Regions from separate parts of the Homo sapiens genome. Here regions 2, 3 and 4 are each linked to region 1. The links are contacts of gene promoters, found by promoter capture Hi-C in blood cells and fetal thymus (Javierre and others, 2016). All regions are on one chromosome and are shown on one strand. The core of a region is centred on a gene start or on the middle of the fragment in contact, and the rest is flanking DNA. Distances in the headings are between cores, read along the strand shown.

Region 1 (3,235 bases), core at 352-2,851:
TCCATCGCAGTTCTCTCTAGCCTACAACCTGCGAGTCAGAATTTGACCCAGAAGAGTGGAGAAATGGGAGGTTCTAATGTGCCACGTCTGGGGAGCCCAAACCCAGGAAAACAAAGAGCTGAACTAGACATGTGCTTATCCAAGTTCTGCCCTGAAGCCACTAGGCACACATAGGCTGGCAGGTCTTTTTCTCCTCCCCAGGAGACGGCTGTCCCTCACTCCTCATCACAAGGGAGCAAGGGGTTAATCCTGGTCCCAGGGAGGGGCACAGAGGGCAGGTCAGGGTCACACACAGACTATGCCACCTCCACTAACCACTCACTCTTGAGTCTAAAAATTCACTTTTTTTAGTAACCAAATGAGAGAGAGGCATCAGATTTCCAGATGAATCATCTCTAAAGCCTTCCTCTGAAGTGCCAGTTGGGAAGGACTGAGTGAAGAGCCTCCAAGCTGGGGAACCTAACGCCATTATGTATTTATTATAACTGATGCAGAGAATTTCTTTCCCCCTGCCTTCTTTGCCCTTTGTCCTTTCCCTCCCTCTCTCCCTCCCTCCCTCCTTACCTTTCTTTCTTCCTTCTTTCCTCTCTCGCTCCCTCCCTTTCTTACTTTCTCCCTTTCTTTCGTACTTCTTTACACAATCATTTAAGAACCTTTCTTACTGCAGGCACTGGTCTGACACCTAAAGAAACTGCCTCCCACCCCTACACCGGGAGGAAGACCAGAGAAGACCCGGTTCTGCTGGTACCTGGGCTAGGGAGGCGGCGACCCCTGGGTTATGGGTCACGGGGGACGGGGGCTATGCTTTAGCATCTCCCTCAATGTCTTTTCATTCTGTTCTTTCAAACTCCACAGGCTTTTTTTTTTTTTTTTTTTTTTGACAGAATTTCAGTCTGTCACCCAGGCTGGAGTGCAGTGGCATGATCTCGGCTCACTGCAACCTCTGCCTACCAGGTTCAAGTGATGCTCATGCCTCAGTCGCCCAAGTAGCTGGGATTTTTGTATCTGAAAATATCAAAAACACATGCCCAACTAATTTTTTTTTGTATTTTTAGTAGAGACAGGGTTTCACCATGTTGGCCAGGCTGGTCTCGAACTCCTGACCTTAAATGATCTGCCCACCTCAGCCTCCCAAAGTTCTGGGATTACAGGTGTGAGCCACCGCACCTGGCTAAAGTCCACAGGCTTTGCAGCCTCTGTTGAAAATTCATCTCTCAGTCTCGTGTTCCTCCTGGCCTTCCTCCCAAGCAGCCTCAATTCTTCTTGGTGTTAAATTGGCGAAAGCAGCTCCTCATCACAGTCATGTCTTGTCCCTACATCAACACTCAAAAAAATTGACTTCTGCTGTCCCCACCTTGACCCCTTTTCACAAATAAAGCAGAGGTCTAGTCCTTCAAAAAAAAGTAACCAAGAATCCCCCATGCTCACCTCTGGTCCTGTAAGTGATGCTTGAGGGCTGGCTGCCTGGAGGCAGCTGGTTCTTTTTACAGAAAAGTTAGACAGGCACCTTCACCATTCACCAATCAGAGGCATAGCTGTGGGTGGAAGGTTCCCGTCCCAGCCGTGGAAGTCATTTCAGAAGTAAAGGTTTGCAGGCAAGCAAGGCTTTGTGGAGATTTGGGCATATATATGGGGGCTGATGGGGGAGGGGTGGAGGAAAAAGAGGGAGGTGGAGAAAGGGAAATTGGTCATGCTTTCCTAGAGAATTACTTCATTGCCTAGTCACCCATCACTTTAAGGACAATACAGCGATGGGGAAAGCAGCCCCTGAGGTGAGATGAGACCTGGGTTTGAGTTCAGGCTCTACCACTGGCTGTGTGGGCAGGGGCAAGTCTCTTAGCTTCTCTGCGCTGCAGTCTCTGCATGTATAAATTTTTAAAAAATTTGTCCCACCTCCCCCCAAGGGCAAGTGTAATAAACAGAGGCAAAAACAACACAGAGGTGCTTGGTAAACTCTGTACACATGTAAATACATTATTACTGTGCAGCATACACCAGTCTCCTTCCTGTCAAAATAATTCAATAATGATGCCCTATTCATGCTGGGACAGTAGTCCACAGCGAAGAAATAACCTGTAAGTACCTCTCCTTTAATCCATCAGGGCCAGGAAGTTGAGGAGTGTTTCCTGACATGCAGCTACCCATGGTCCCTAGGGTTATAATCACTCAACCAAAATGTGCCTCTCCTTAGGTTCTGGAAACCAGGAAGAATAAGGAAATGTACGCATGGACAAGCCCAGAAAGCTGGGAGGCCTGGTGCTCTGGTGGGCTAGTCTTGGCCTGTGTGGCTCTGAACCACTCAGGGGACACAGACAGCGTGATGTGTCAAGACTGCCAGGGCAGTCAAGAGCTCTGACCCTATCTCCAGCTAGCAAGGCACTCAGCTCTAGATTCTACCATGTGCCCAGTGAGGGCATCAAGCAGAGCAGTGTTTCCCAAAGCACAGTCCTCAGACTCTAGGTTTGAGGAATTCTTGTCTTGCAAGATCCTCCATGAAACAGATGAATCCTAATGAGGTCAGTTAGAGAGCCCTGGCATGTGCTAGCCCGTCCTGGAAATGTCTGATGCTTCTTAACTCTGTTTAATCCAGCATTTCCCATAAGTATTTGCCCACATCCCTGAGGAATACATTTTGGGAATCAGGGATTGGCCAACTGTAGGTCACAAGCCAAATCCAGCCTGCCACTGCTAAGCTGAGAATGGCTTAACCTTGCGACCTAAGAGTAGTTTTTACGTTTTTTAATGATTGGGGAAAAAATCAAAAGAAAGACATTATTTTCAGGTTTCCGTATCCATAATAAATAAAGTTTTCATGGGGTCACATATGTTTGTTGACATATTGTTGCTAATTGCTTTCGTGCTACAGAGGCAGAGATGAGTAGTTGTGACTGAGACCATATGGCACACAGAGCCTAAAATAGTTCCTGTCTGGTTCTTTACAGGAAGAGTTTGCCCAACCTGGGTCCAGGCATGGGAAACGGGAGTAGGAATGTGACGTGGGGGACAGGATAACTGCCTCCAGCTCAGTGGAGATGAAAGAAAAGAGGAGAGTGAGTAGAACACACCCTTGGCAGACTCTTCCCAATCTCTCTGGCACCAACACCCCCTCCCTCCATCTCATACTCAGTGTTGTTTATTTTCTTAAGCAAACAAAATACTCCTTTGCAATCCCTGGCCAGCAGTCTGCTTGGCTATAGCTGCCACCAGCCTGAATCCTTTGTTCCTGGAGGGCCCG
Region 2 (3,425 bases), core at 472-2,971, 200 kb after region 1:
AAAAATAATGAAGATGTAGGTTTTCAGGGGATTTACAGTCCAATCCGATATCTAAAGAGGTGCCTTGCGTTCCTGTGCGGAGTCTGGAAACAACATGCAGAAATGGCACCTTGAAAGGGGAAGGAAAAGAAGGAAGAACAGGTCATCAGCCTCAGACCTCAGGTGGCTGAAGGAGAGAATGTATTTGGTGTCTGCCATATCTTTGCATCCTTCAATGACACTTTTGTCCATGTCACTGATCTTTCTGGCAAAGAAATCATCTGCCGTGTGACTGGTAGGATGAAGGTGAAGGCAGGTGAGATGAATCCTCACCACATGCTGCTATGTTGGCTGCCCGGGATGTGGCCCAGAGCTGGGTATCACTGCCCTACACATCGAACTCCGAGCCATAGGAGGAAGTAGAACCAAGACCCCTGGACCTGGGGCCCAGGTGGCCCTCAGGGCCCTTGCCCGCTCAGGTATGAAGATCGGACAGATTGAGGACGTCACTCCCAACCCCTCTGACAGCACCCGCAGGAAGGGGGGTTGCCATGGTCACTGTGCACAGGACTCCTCAAATATTTTCCGTTAATAAATTACCTTCCTGTTAAAAAAAAAAAGAGAGAGAGAGAGAGATGCCTTGCACATGGAGAAATGCACTTAAACAGAGAAATAAAAGGTAAGAGTGTATCAGCAAGTTTGATGGGGAAGGATGGGAAGACCCACTTTTGGTGCGAAAGGCTCTGGAAAAGCAGCATCTGTGCAGGGTGGAAAAGGTAGATATAGACAGGACGGGGGACAGGCATGGTACAGAGAAGATGCAGATGGATAGATGCTAAGGTGTGGGGGTGGAAAGCACAGTTCTGTTAAAGAAACAACATATATAAGCCACTTAAGCTGGGGAGAAAAAAAAAGCATGTGTTCCAAAAAAAAAAAAAAAAACAGATCAGGGCCAGATCTGGGAAAGATGTGGATATCTCATGTATTCTGCAGGCAGAGAGACCCACTGAAGGGCTTAAGCTGGGAAGCTACATGATCAGAGCTGGGCTCTGGGCAAACTAATCCCCCACTGCACGCCGAAGAATCATGGGGGCAAGACCTTCCTTCCATAGCTGAGGGTTCTCAGAGTTAGCCACATGTTTCAACCACCCATCCCACCCCCTACTACTCTCTATTCCTTCTCTCTCTGGTTACACCTCAAACCTAATTTTATTTTCTTTTAAAGTATCCGAGCCCAGGTAGCCAAATCAAATGCATAAAGTCAGGAAAGTCTGAGACCCAGGAGAGGGGGCACTGCCACCCTTCCTCCTCCTCTCTGTGAGCACAGGTCACTAAAGCACATCAGGGGAAGAGAACACAAAGGGTATGAAGTCACTAAGAGTCGCAGGTGGGCTCTGCTGGAAAGGACATGATGCTCGTGAGCCTGGCAGTCAGAGGGAATGACAGCACTTGGCGTGTCTGCAAGCGCAAGTGTTTCCAGGGCAGGTTACTACATATGCTCATTTTCTCCCTGTGGCCTCCCCATCTGCCAGAGATCTGGGTGCCTGTAAGGATGTAGAAGGTATGGGATGACCCCTTGCTGGGCTGTCCAACTCAGCTGTGCAGCCAGGCTGCTCTGAGCTGCAGGGCACATGCAGCCTCCTCATCAGGTCACCTGCATTCCTAGAATTCTCCAAGTTCCAGACACACGGCCTTTAGTGTCCAGGGCTCTCCCCGCAGGACCCTTTGAGCTCTGCAGAAGCCAAGCATGACGAGCAACCTGCAGATTCCTCACTTAGAGAAGCTAGCCTTCTCCAGCTCCCGTGAAGCCTGGCCTTTAGAATCCTACTAACCTTCTTCTAGGAATCACAGAAGCCAAGGAAGGCAGTCGGGATAGGGAAAGACAGAGGGTATGGCTATTCTGAGGACAGGGGCTCCTTCTGTCAGAGTTAAAAATAAACACTTAGCAACTATGCCCAACTCTTCCTCTGCACAGGCCAATGGGCCTTGGCAGATAAATCTTTCCTTGCAGAGGAAATGTGGCCCCAGGGGAGAGGTGGGAGAAGGAGGCCATCGACACATGGTCAGAGTATGTAACTCTAGCTGAAGGCAGTGGGTTCCTCAAGTCCTATGTCTTGGTTGTCATTGCCATCACTCTCCACCATACACCCCTTCCCCCAAATAAACCATAATTCCTGAAAGCAGACATAGAGCCCTCCTAGGCCACGATTAGTATCAACACCTGTCTAGGGATTAGAAAAAATCAGAAAGAATACTAACGCCACGCTGAAGAACAGAATGCCAATGTCAGACTCTGCCCAGTATCTATCAGCTAAGCAAATATTCTAGCTACCTGAGCCCCTTTCCTCATCTTGCTCCACAAGTCTCCAGGATCCCTGGGGAGTAGAGGAAGAGGCCACACCTCCATGGACACACATCAATACTGCAGTCAAGAGGTAGAAGAAACCCATGCACTCGGTGACATTCTGCATGTGGCTGAGCTGGAAGGGCCAGAGGTGCCATGGCCTGACTCAGGAAGGAGATCCTGAGAGCCAGGGCCCAGTTATTCTTGGACGCTGACAAGATGAGGTCACACTTTTGAATGTGGTAGCCCAAAGCCTCACACTGCGGAGGTGGAGAATATAACGTAGCAACAGGGCAGGAGTACACGGTAGGTAGCATGCTCGGTGACAGGGCAGTCGGGTTGAAGGCCTGGGGCAGACTGCCCATGTGGGGCTGTCCTAGCATATAACTATGGTAACTCTGTTACCATAACCAGGTAACTCTGGCAAAGAGGCCTGCTTGGAGGTAAAACTGGAGGAAGCCAGGGCTGGAGGCGAGCACAGTAGAAGGTCTGATCCACTCTGATGAGCTTGGTCACTCTCCTTTTTGTCTAACCCTTTCCCTACTGGGAAATAAGCAGGACAGCTTCACGGAGCTTTCATACACACAAATCTAGACACCTGGAGACATAAAAACCATAGCACGTCTCCCAGCACTCAGAAGAGTGAGTTAGCCCCAAATCACCTACCAAGCTCAGGCTGGAAGAGAAAGGGGCAAGCAGGGAGAATATCAGCAGAAAGTGAGAGAAACAGGTCAGCGGTGTGGCAGGAAGCACTGGGACAGCTAACAGGGCCTGGCTGTGAGGGGAGACTGCAGCAGTGGCAGGTTTATTTTTAGCTGTTCGGCAGAGGGGCTGAGTAACAGTTCTGGGCCCTGGGCAGGAGGCCAGGCTGCTAAGGTCCGGTGTGTACTGAGAGCCTCCTAACAATGTGGATCATTAAAATGGCAGCAAACGAACAACTCGATCTTCTCCCTGTAGACAAGCAGGAGGATAAGGAGCCCCGCCGGAGGACGAAAGTGGAGGAGTCGGCAGGGGGACAGTCAGTAGATCTCCTGTTCAGCCCCTCCCCTCAGAGAGACTTCACCTTTGCTTCTGGTTCAAAAGAATCTTCATGGAGATGAGC
Region 3 (3,451 bases), core at 178-2,677, 240 kb after region 1:
TATTTAAAACTAGGAGGCTAATCCCTGGCAGAAGAGAACTCTTCTTTGATTTGCCAATCCCTGGCCTTTTCTTACTCCTTATTTGTACTGACTCCAGGTTTTCCATAGCATGAATGCCTGCCGCTGCTCTACGCATAGTAAGTTATAGCGTTCTACAGATTGGTCATCTAGACCGAAGACACGGAGGAAAACATGTTCTGGCAATTCTACCTGGCTCAAGGTGTAAGTATGTATTTTTAATTCTCAGAGGAGAAAAAGCATTACAGAGGCAGTCTAGAACAATCATTGTCACCTTTCCAACTTCCGTGTTGATGACATCAATAACAGATGGAAAAGAAATAATTAAAAATAAAGGAGAAAGAGTTTTCCATGATTCACCAAAGTAGTAGGAGTATTCTGTCAGGAAAGCTTAGAACCATTTATCAGCTGCTACCTAAAATTTAGCATTTAACTTTAATTATGCCTAGTTACGAATTAAGCAAAACAGAAAGTGTTTTAACATGACCAGCTGCTACAGATTGAAATAGTTTCACAGTAGAAATTTTTATTTTTTTATTGTTCTTTTTTGATTATGCAATAAGCCCCCTTCTTAACAGATTGTCACAAAAACTAAATTGTAATGACATTAGCCAGCTAACCTGTCTGCCCCAACTCCCTTAAACACCAAGGAATAAAGCATACTAATATGGTCATAAGTCAAACTTCCTCTGGGAAAGAAGATCCAGGCTAGACTCTTTCAGAGCCCCTGTGGGGCAGAAGCAGAATCCTTACATCATAGTTAGGTTTTGGTGGTATTCATTTTTTTTTCATTATTATCAAGGTAACTGTATCTAACACTGGACCAGAAGAAAATGTCCTTAATCCTTATCTCATTACCCTTTCCCAAAAAGAAGACATCAGAGATTGTGTGGGTCAACTTAAAAGAAGAGGCGAGCATGCTCCTGGTTCATGGAAGGAAATGAGCTTCCATCATCTGCACATGATCAGCGGGCATCAAAATCTGTTAATTCAGAACAATATGAAGACACACTCCCATTTGAAGCTTACTTTCTAATCTAAGGAGAAATCATGATAGCACATGATGAAAGAGTACATCAATAACTCTGAGGGTAGATGGTAGGATAGAATACTAGAAGATGAGCAGGTATTAGGTGGATTAGCCAATTTTCCATATTGAAAGAAAAAATGAGGCTGGGCACGGTCGCTCACACCTATAATCCCAGCACTTTGAGAGGGTAAGGCACATGGATCACTTGAGCCCAGGAGTTCAAGACCAGCCCGAGCAACATGGTGAAACCCCCTCTCTACAGATATACAAAAAATTAGCCAGGCATGGTAGCACGTGACTGTAGTCCCAGTTACTCTGGAGGTTGAGATGGGAGAATCACCTGAGCCTGGGAGGTTGAGGCTGCAGACAACACTGCGCCACTTCACTCCAGCCTGGACGACAGAGCGAGACTCTGTCTCAAAAAGAAAAAATAAAGAAAAAGAAAAAATGACTTGGGGAATGAAATAAAAATTCTAACCCAACTCTCACCGTGTCAGAAACAACTTGGAAATTAAAATTTGTCAATTTAGAACTCAGTAAGTCACCTAACCTAACCAGTTTGACTGAAATGACTAGAAGAAAAATGGCTAAAGAACAATCCAGTAACTGAGGAAGAGACAGTCTGAATTTCTGTACTAACTCTGATCCAATTCAGTCACTCATTGCTATGGCTGGGCAGGGATCCAAGTGAAACTTTTAACAGTGGCCAATAAGGTGGCATAGAGTTACTGCCTCTAAAAACCACAACTTGTCCCTAAGCTTGAAACCCAACCATAAACTTCCTCAAATCCATGTGGACGAGCACCATGTTTTTAAGCAGCCCACTCTCCTCAAACTTGAATTGGCCTGCAGAAGACAGGTATGCCAACTTCAATGACTCTGCTCTGCATCACTCTCTCGGTTGCCAAATTGAGGCAGAAACATCCATTTGCCTTCCTGTAGCTTTCTAAAATCTGTCTACAGTGTAATGAGTTGTCTATACACTTTCCCTTAGCCCAGTTTCAGTAACCTTGTAGTCCATTCGATACACAGAAATAGAGCACGCACCAACCTCAGCCACAGGCCCCTTTCTCTCCCAAGTTCAGGCACAGTACTGGCTAGAACTCTCACTAAAAACACAAACACCAAAACACAGTGTACATCAGATGCATATGGGGTAGTAATGCTTTTAACAGTTTGCTTACAGGAGCAGTTCTTCAACACTGATAACAACTGGCAAAACAACCTCAACATATGCTCTGCCTAGATAATGCAGGAGATCCTTAAATTTCTCCAAGTTAGAAAATTCAGGACAACAGCAATATGGTGTTAGAGACTTCAGATCTGTGTCAATCAGATATAGCCTTGCTGCCACCTAAAGATGTGCTCGCCACCCCACACATGGCTTTAGCAGCAGTTCCAAAGGCCAATGCATTCACTCTTGGAAGACAGTGTCAGCTGTCTTGACACTGCTGCTGGCTACATTTAACCAACTCTATGATGTGGTACCAGAGCCCAAGAAATACATCAAGCCAGATCATTCTGTCCAAACATCCCAAGGAAACATGTGCCTTGGACAGCACCTGAGTGGGAACAGGCTGCTAATGTTGATATAAAATGCAAAATAGTAAAAGTAGCATTTTCTCTAATTTACTATTCAGTGAGAAACCCATGCAGAAATCCAATGCAGCAAATTGTAGAGGTTCAATGCTCCCTGATCTGCAGTTAAGCCAGGTGTGCCACCTCCTTCATCTGACTTGGATCCTGCTCTGGACTTCAAGGAAACATCTACCTGGCTAGCAGTTCAAGGACTCGATATAAAAATAACTCATGCTTTGTTTCAACTGGAGGGTCATGACACTGTTGGGCCTACAGGAAAACCATTCATAAGTCAATGTAAGCTCATATCTACTGAAAGAGTAGATTTGAGTTTTTTGAGTAGATATGAGCTTTTACACCCTAAGTTACAATGAAAAGATTCACTGAAGAAGGATTCAATCATGCTGTACTACTTCCTGGAGTTGGCAGAGAAATCATCCATTTCTTGGTAGTTGAAAGAAGGCTGATCCAAGAACACAGTGAAGAGATGTTCCCATTTCTCAAGGTGTTTCATCTTCCTGGCCATGATGATTTAGCACCTGCAAAATTCCCAAACCTACGCAATGTGGTTAATGCGGGGAAGCAGACATTGGACTACCAACTTCCAAAGAGTCACTATCTCGACTAGCAGATCATGAGGTAGATGAGGCAGTTTCAAGACCTCCCTTGAAGAAGGCAGTGATGAATAAAGAAGAGGAGGATGGGTTATGAGCAGCATTTAGTGTGACATCTGAAGAGATCAAGATGCCACTATCAGACAAGAAAACCAATAACCAGACTAATTTCACACAGCTTCTTCAGGCAATGGAATCAAGAGATAGGATG
Region 4 (3,715 bases), core at 1,003-3,502, 140 kb after region 1:
CTATGCAGCCACTGACAGAAATTAGAGAAGAAGCAAATGGGTTCTTCCACCCTGGGAGTGAAGCACAAGGCAGAAGGAAGGGGAAGAGATCAGAGATGAAAAGAAAGAAGAGAGCAGGTGCCGTGGCTCCCACCTGTAATCCCAGCACTTTGAGAGGCCGAGGCGGGTGGATCACCTGAGTTCAGGAGTTCAAGACCAGTCTGGCCAACGTGATGAAACCCTATCTCTACTAAAAATACAAAAAAAATAGTCAGGCGCGAGCCTGTAGTCCCAGCTACTTATGAGGCTGAAACAGGAGAATCGCTAGAACCTGGGAGGCAGGGGTTGCAGTGAGCCAAGATCGTGCCATTGCACTCCAGCCTGGGCAACAAAAGCGAAACTTAAAAAAAAAAAAGAAAGAAAGAAAGAAAAGAAAAAAGAAAAAGAACGAAAGAACGAAAGAAAAAAAGAAAGAAAGAAGGAAGGAAGAAAGAAAGAAAGAGAGAAGAAAGGAAGGAAGAAAGAGAAAAAGAAAAAGAAAGAAGAAAGAAAGAAAGAAAAAGAAAAAGAAAGAAAGAAAGGAAGGAAGGAAGAAAGAGAGAGAGAGAGAAAGGAAAGGAAAGGAAAGGAAAGGAAAGGAAAGGAAAGGAGAAAGGCAAGTTAGTTCAGTGACAAAACTTCCCATTCTGTGACATGTGTCCCCCTCAAAACACTTATATGAGTAGTTTTAACTGTGGAATACGGGAACCAGCTTTAGTCCTGGGGTGATTTAGGGAAAACCAGACCTAACACTCCAAGGAAATGGGAGCTGAATTGTAAGAACATAAACCCAGAATTTTAAATAATGGGAAGATCTTTCAACTTTCATAAGCGACAGAACTGGCTACAGAATGAACCAGTCAATTGCATATCTTCAGGGGCTAGTGGGTCCCAGGTGACACATGGGTTCCATTATTCAATACCCCTTCTAGGCACTAACTCACTTGGTGACTTCAAAGATTTTACTTAACTTGTCTGGGACTCAGTTTCCTCAACAATAAATAAGAAAATAGGTCTGAATCAATGGTTTCCCTTGGGGAAAACCATTCACCTCTGTGGCCACTACAGTGGAGCCAGTCGCTCCTGGGGACAAGAGTGACAGCGCTTATAGCAGGTGATGGGGGTAGTCTGAGCAATTTCCAAAATTTGAAAAAGCCTCATGGAAATTGTGCATTTAGCAACACCTCCTCTCATAAGTCTGCACAAGCTCATTAAAAAGCACTTCTCCCTGTTTGGATGGAGTCATCCACTTTGTGTGGGAAGACAGTTTGTCCCATGCCAATCAGAGTTCTATTTGGCCGTTATCTATTACATCTTTTTCTTTTCTTTTTTTTTTTTTTTTTTGCCAAGGAGTCTCGCTCTGTCGCTCAGGCTGGAGTGTGCAGTGGCACGATCTCAGCTCACTGTAACCTCTGCCTCCCAGGTTCAAGCGATTCTTACGCCTCAGCCTCCCATGTAGCTGAGATTACAGGTGCCCGCCACCACGCCCAGCTAATTTTTGTATTTTTAGTAGAGACGGGGTTTCACCATGTTGGCCAGGCTGGTCTTGAACTCCTGGCCTCCAGAGATCCACCTGCCTCAGCCTCCCAAAATGCTAGGATTACAGGTATGAGCTACCATGCCCAGCCCATCTATTACATCTTTGATTAAGGCAATCAGAAAATGGAATTATTTCTTTAAAAAGTTTTTAAGCAGCCAAAACATTTTAAAACAGAGAGTCTCTGGAGAAATTTAATAGCAGCAGTCCTTCAATTAAAAGCTTAAAAGTCGCTAAACTAGATGACCTCTAAATTCTGTTCGAGCCTGTAGTTCCTCATTCCAGCCACTGACTCCTCCAGTCCACCAGGCCTATTCCCACTGGAATCCTCCTCCAGGACTCATTCCTGTGTCTACAGCATCTGCACTCCTAATTTGCCAGGCAGTTCCCATTTATCTGTGTATTATCAACAGCTCCCTCCCCCAGCAGAATTGAGCTGCCATTGAGCCTTTAGCTTCCAGAGGCCTCCTTGGCACCCTGGCTGGAGAGGACAAGGGGGACATAAAAGACCTAAGGAAAGTGACACAGCGTACCTCTGACTCTACAGCACAGGGTGACATGCACAGCCTCTGGAGTCTGAGCCCAGGCTTCCACTTACTTCTCAGCTACATGACCTTGAGACATTCCCTAGCTTGGTATTCTCCTCTGTAACATGGAGAGAATAATTACTCTTTCAAGGTGTCGTCAGAAAAAATAAAGGCTTGAATACATAAAAGTCTCCCGGCACAGAGTAAATACTTAATAAAAGCAGCTCTATCGCAGACATTTGGGAAAATGCTCCCATCCAACCAGATGGAACAATAGGTGCCAACACCATGGAAAATAGCTGGACATGCCTTGCGCTTGTACCAATCATAGACCTGGGCTTTTCCTTACAGTGCCTTCTGCCTCCCTACCACCATTTCTGGGCGGAAAGAGTAAATGGTTTGTCCCTGCACTTGGAAGGGAAAGAAAGGAAGCAACCATTTTTGAGTGCCCACTTTCAATTTCCTGAAGGTGACCTCAGAAATGCTTGGCTTGGTGAAGTAAAAAAATACACATTATGAATTATAGCCCCTAGAGTTCTATAAATCCAGTGAACAGCTTAATATACATGCCTAACTGCCATTTAGAGCAATAATAGCTACACATACTATTAAGTATAGATTAGATCAACCATGTAGAAAGCTTATTCGATTACAGCACTGGACTTTGCTCAAATATGCTTTCTCCATCATTGCTGCTGATCTGCTAGCAATATGAAATATGAGAATTCAGCCAACTATTCTATTCTCCCTTACTATTATTCAAGAAAAAAATATTTTCCAAGGTCATGAAGCCATTGCATAACAGAGCTCATTGTGTGTCCAGTATACAACCCGGAATCTTATGCTTATTTAAAGAAGTCTTCCTGCATTACTTAGGGAAGTGGGATGTTATTTCCGCAAACTGACCCTATTATATACTCTTCACCAAGGCTGAATTAGTAACTTTGGTCAGTATGTGGCATTAAGTAACTAATTGAATCTCCCTACATAATAATCTCCACATTCATGTCTGATGATCATGACACCCAAATCGAAAGAGAAGCAGATTGCTTCTCCATAATCTGCAAAGATGGAGTCATCCACTTTGTGTGGAAAGACAGGTTGCCTCATGTCAATCAGAGTTCTATTTGGCAGTCATCTATTACATCTTTTTCTTTTTCTTTTTTTTTTTTTTTTTTTTTTGGAAAGGAGTCTCCAAACCTCTGGCTTGGAGGCAAGCCAAGCCAGAGGTTTTACAAGATACACACTTATTCACTCAGAACTTATTATGCTCCAGGTACTATGCTGGGTGTCGAAGAAAAAGCAGTGAATAAGACAGACATAATCCTTGCCCTCGTGGATTTCTTTTAATTTTTTAAATAGAGATGGGGGTCTCACTATGTTGCCCAGGCTGGATTTGAACTCCTAGGTGCAAGTGATCCTCCTTCCTCAGCCTCCCACCAATCCTGGCTCCAGCTACACGGATTTAATAGCTAGTTGAGGAAACAGATATTATAAAGTTAACTATATAATGTTATTATAATCATGATTATTTCTATTAATTAGAAGTGTGAGATTTCAGAAAGCAACTAACCTAGACTCAGGGCTAGGGGATGCTTTCATGAGATGGTAACATTCAACTGGACATGAAGGA

What was found. The method cuts DNA at HindIII sites, captures the fragments that hold promoters and counts their contacts. A CHiCAGO score of 5 or more calls a contact.
Region 2: a fragment that was not itself captured here is called in contact with the fragment with the promoter of IL24 in region 1 in 7 of 17 cell types (activated CD4 T cells, total CD4 T cells, non-activated CD4 T cells and 4 more); the score reaches 10.3 in activated CD4 T cells.
Region 3: a contact is called between a fragment that was not itself captured here and the fragment with the promoter of IL24 in region 1, in 8 of 17 cell types (naive B cells, total B cells, activated CD4 T cells and 5 more). The highest score is 8.4, in naive B cells.
Region 4: a fragment that was not itself captured here is called in contact with the fragment with the promoter of IL24 in region 1 in 7 of 17 cell types (non-activated CD4 T cells, activated CD4 T cells, naive CD4 T cells and 4 more); the score reaches 8.5 in non-activated CD4 T cells.

Annotation. Positions count from the first base shown.
Region 1 is chr1:206,895,809-206,899,043 of GRCh38, reverse strand. It overlaps IL24 (interleukin 24), which reads right to left and starts at 1,601. Exons shown (of 7, transcript NM_006850.3): 1 at 1,429-1,601; 2 at 1,168-1,313. The coding sequence starts at 1,211. It overlaps LOC105372879 (a long non-coding RNA gene), which reads left to right and starts at 2,926. Exons shown (of 2, transcript XR_007066836.1): 1 at 2,926-3,050. The HindIII fragment of the contact is 4,835 bases long and covers 1-3,235 here.
Region 2 is chr1:206,692,947-206,696,371 of GRCh38, reverse strand. The region is part of intron 1 of MAPKAPK2 (MAPK activated protein kinase 2); the gene reads right to left. It also overlaps the pseudogene RPS14P1. Among named protein-coding and RNA genes, the nearest start is that of MAPKAPK2, 9.8 kb to the right of the region's middle. The HindIII fragment of the contact is 5,635 bases long and covers 1-3,425 here.
Region 3 is chr1:206,651,056-206,654,506 of GRCh38, reverse strand. It overlaps DYRK3 (dual specificity tyrosine phosphorylation regulated kinase 3), which reads right to left. Exons shown (of 3, transcript NM_003582.4): 3 at 1-3,451. Among named protein-coding and RNA genes, the nearest start is that of DYRK3-AS1, 17 kb to the right of the region's middle. The HindIII fragment of the contact is 765 bases long and covers 1,045-1,809 here.
Region 4 is chr1:206,759,767-206,763,481 of GRCh38, reverse strand. No RefSeq gene overlaps it. Among named protein-coding and RNA genes, the nearest start is that of IL19, 9.1 kb to the left of the region's middle. The HindIII fragment of the contact is 945 bases long and covers 1,780-2,724 here.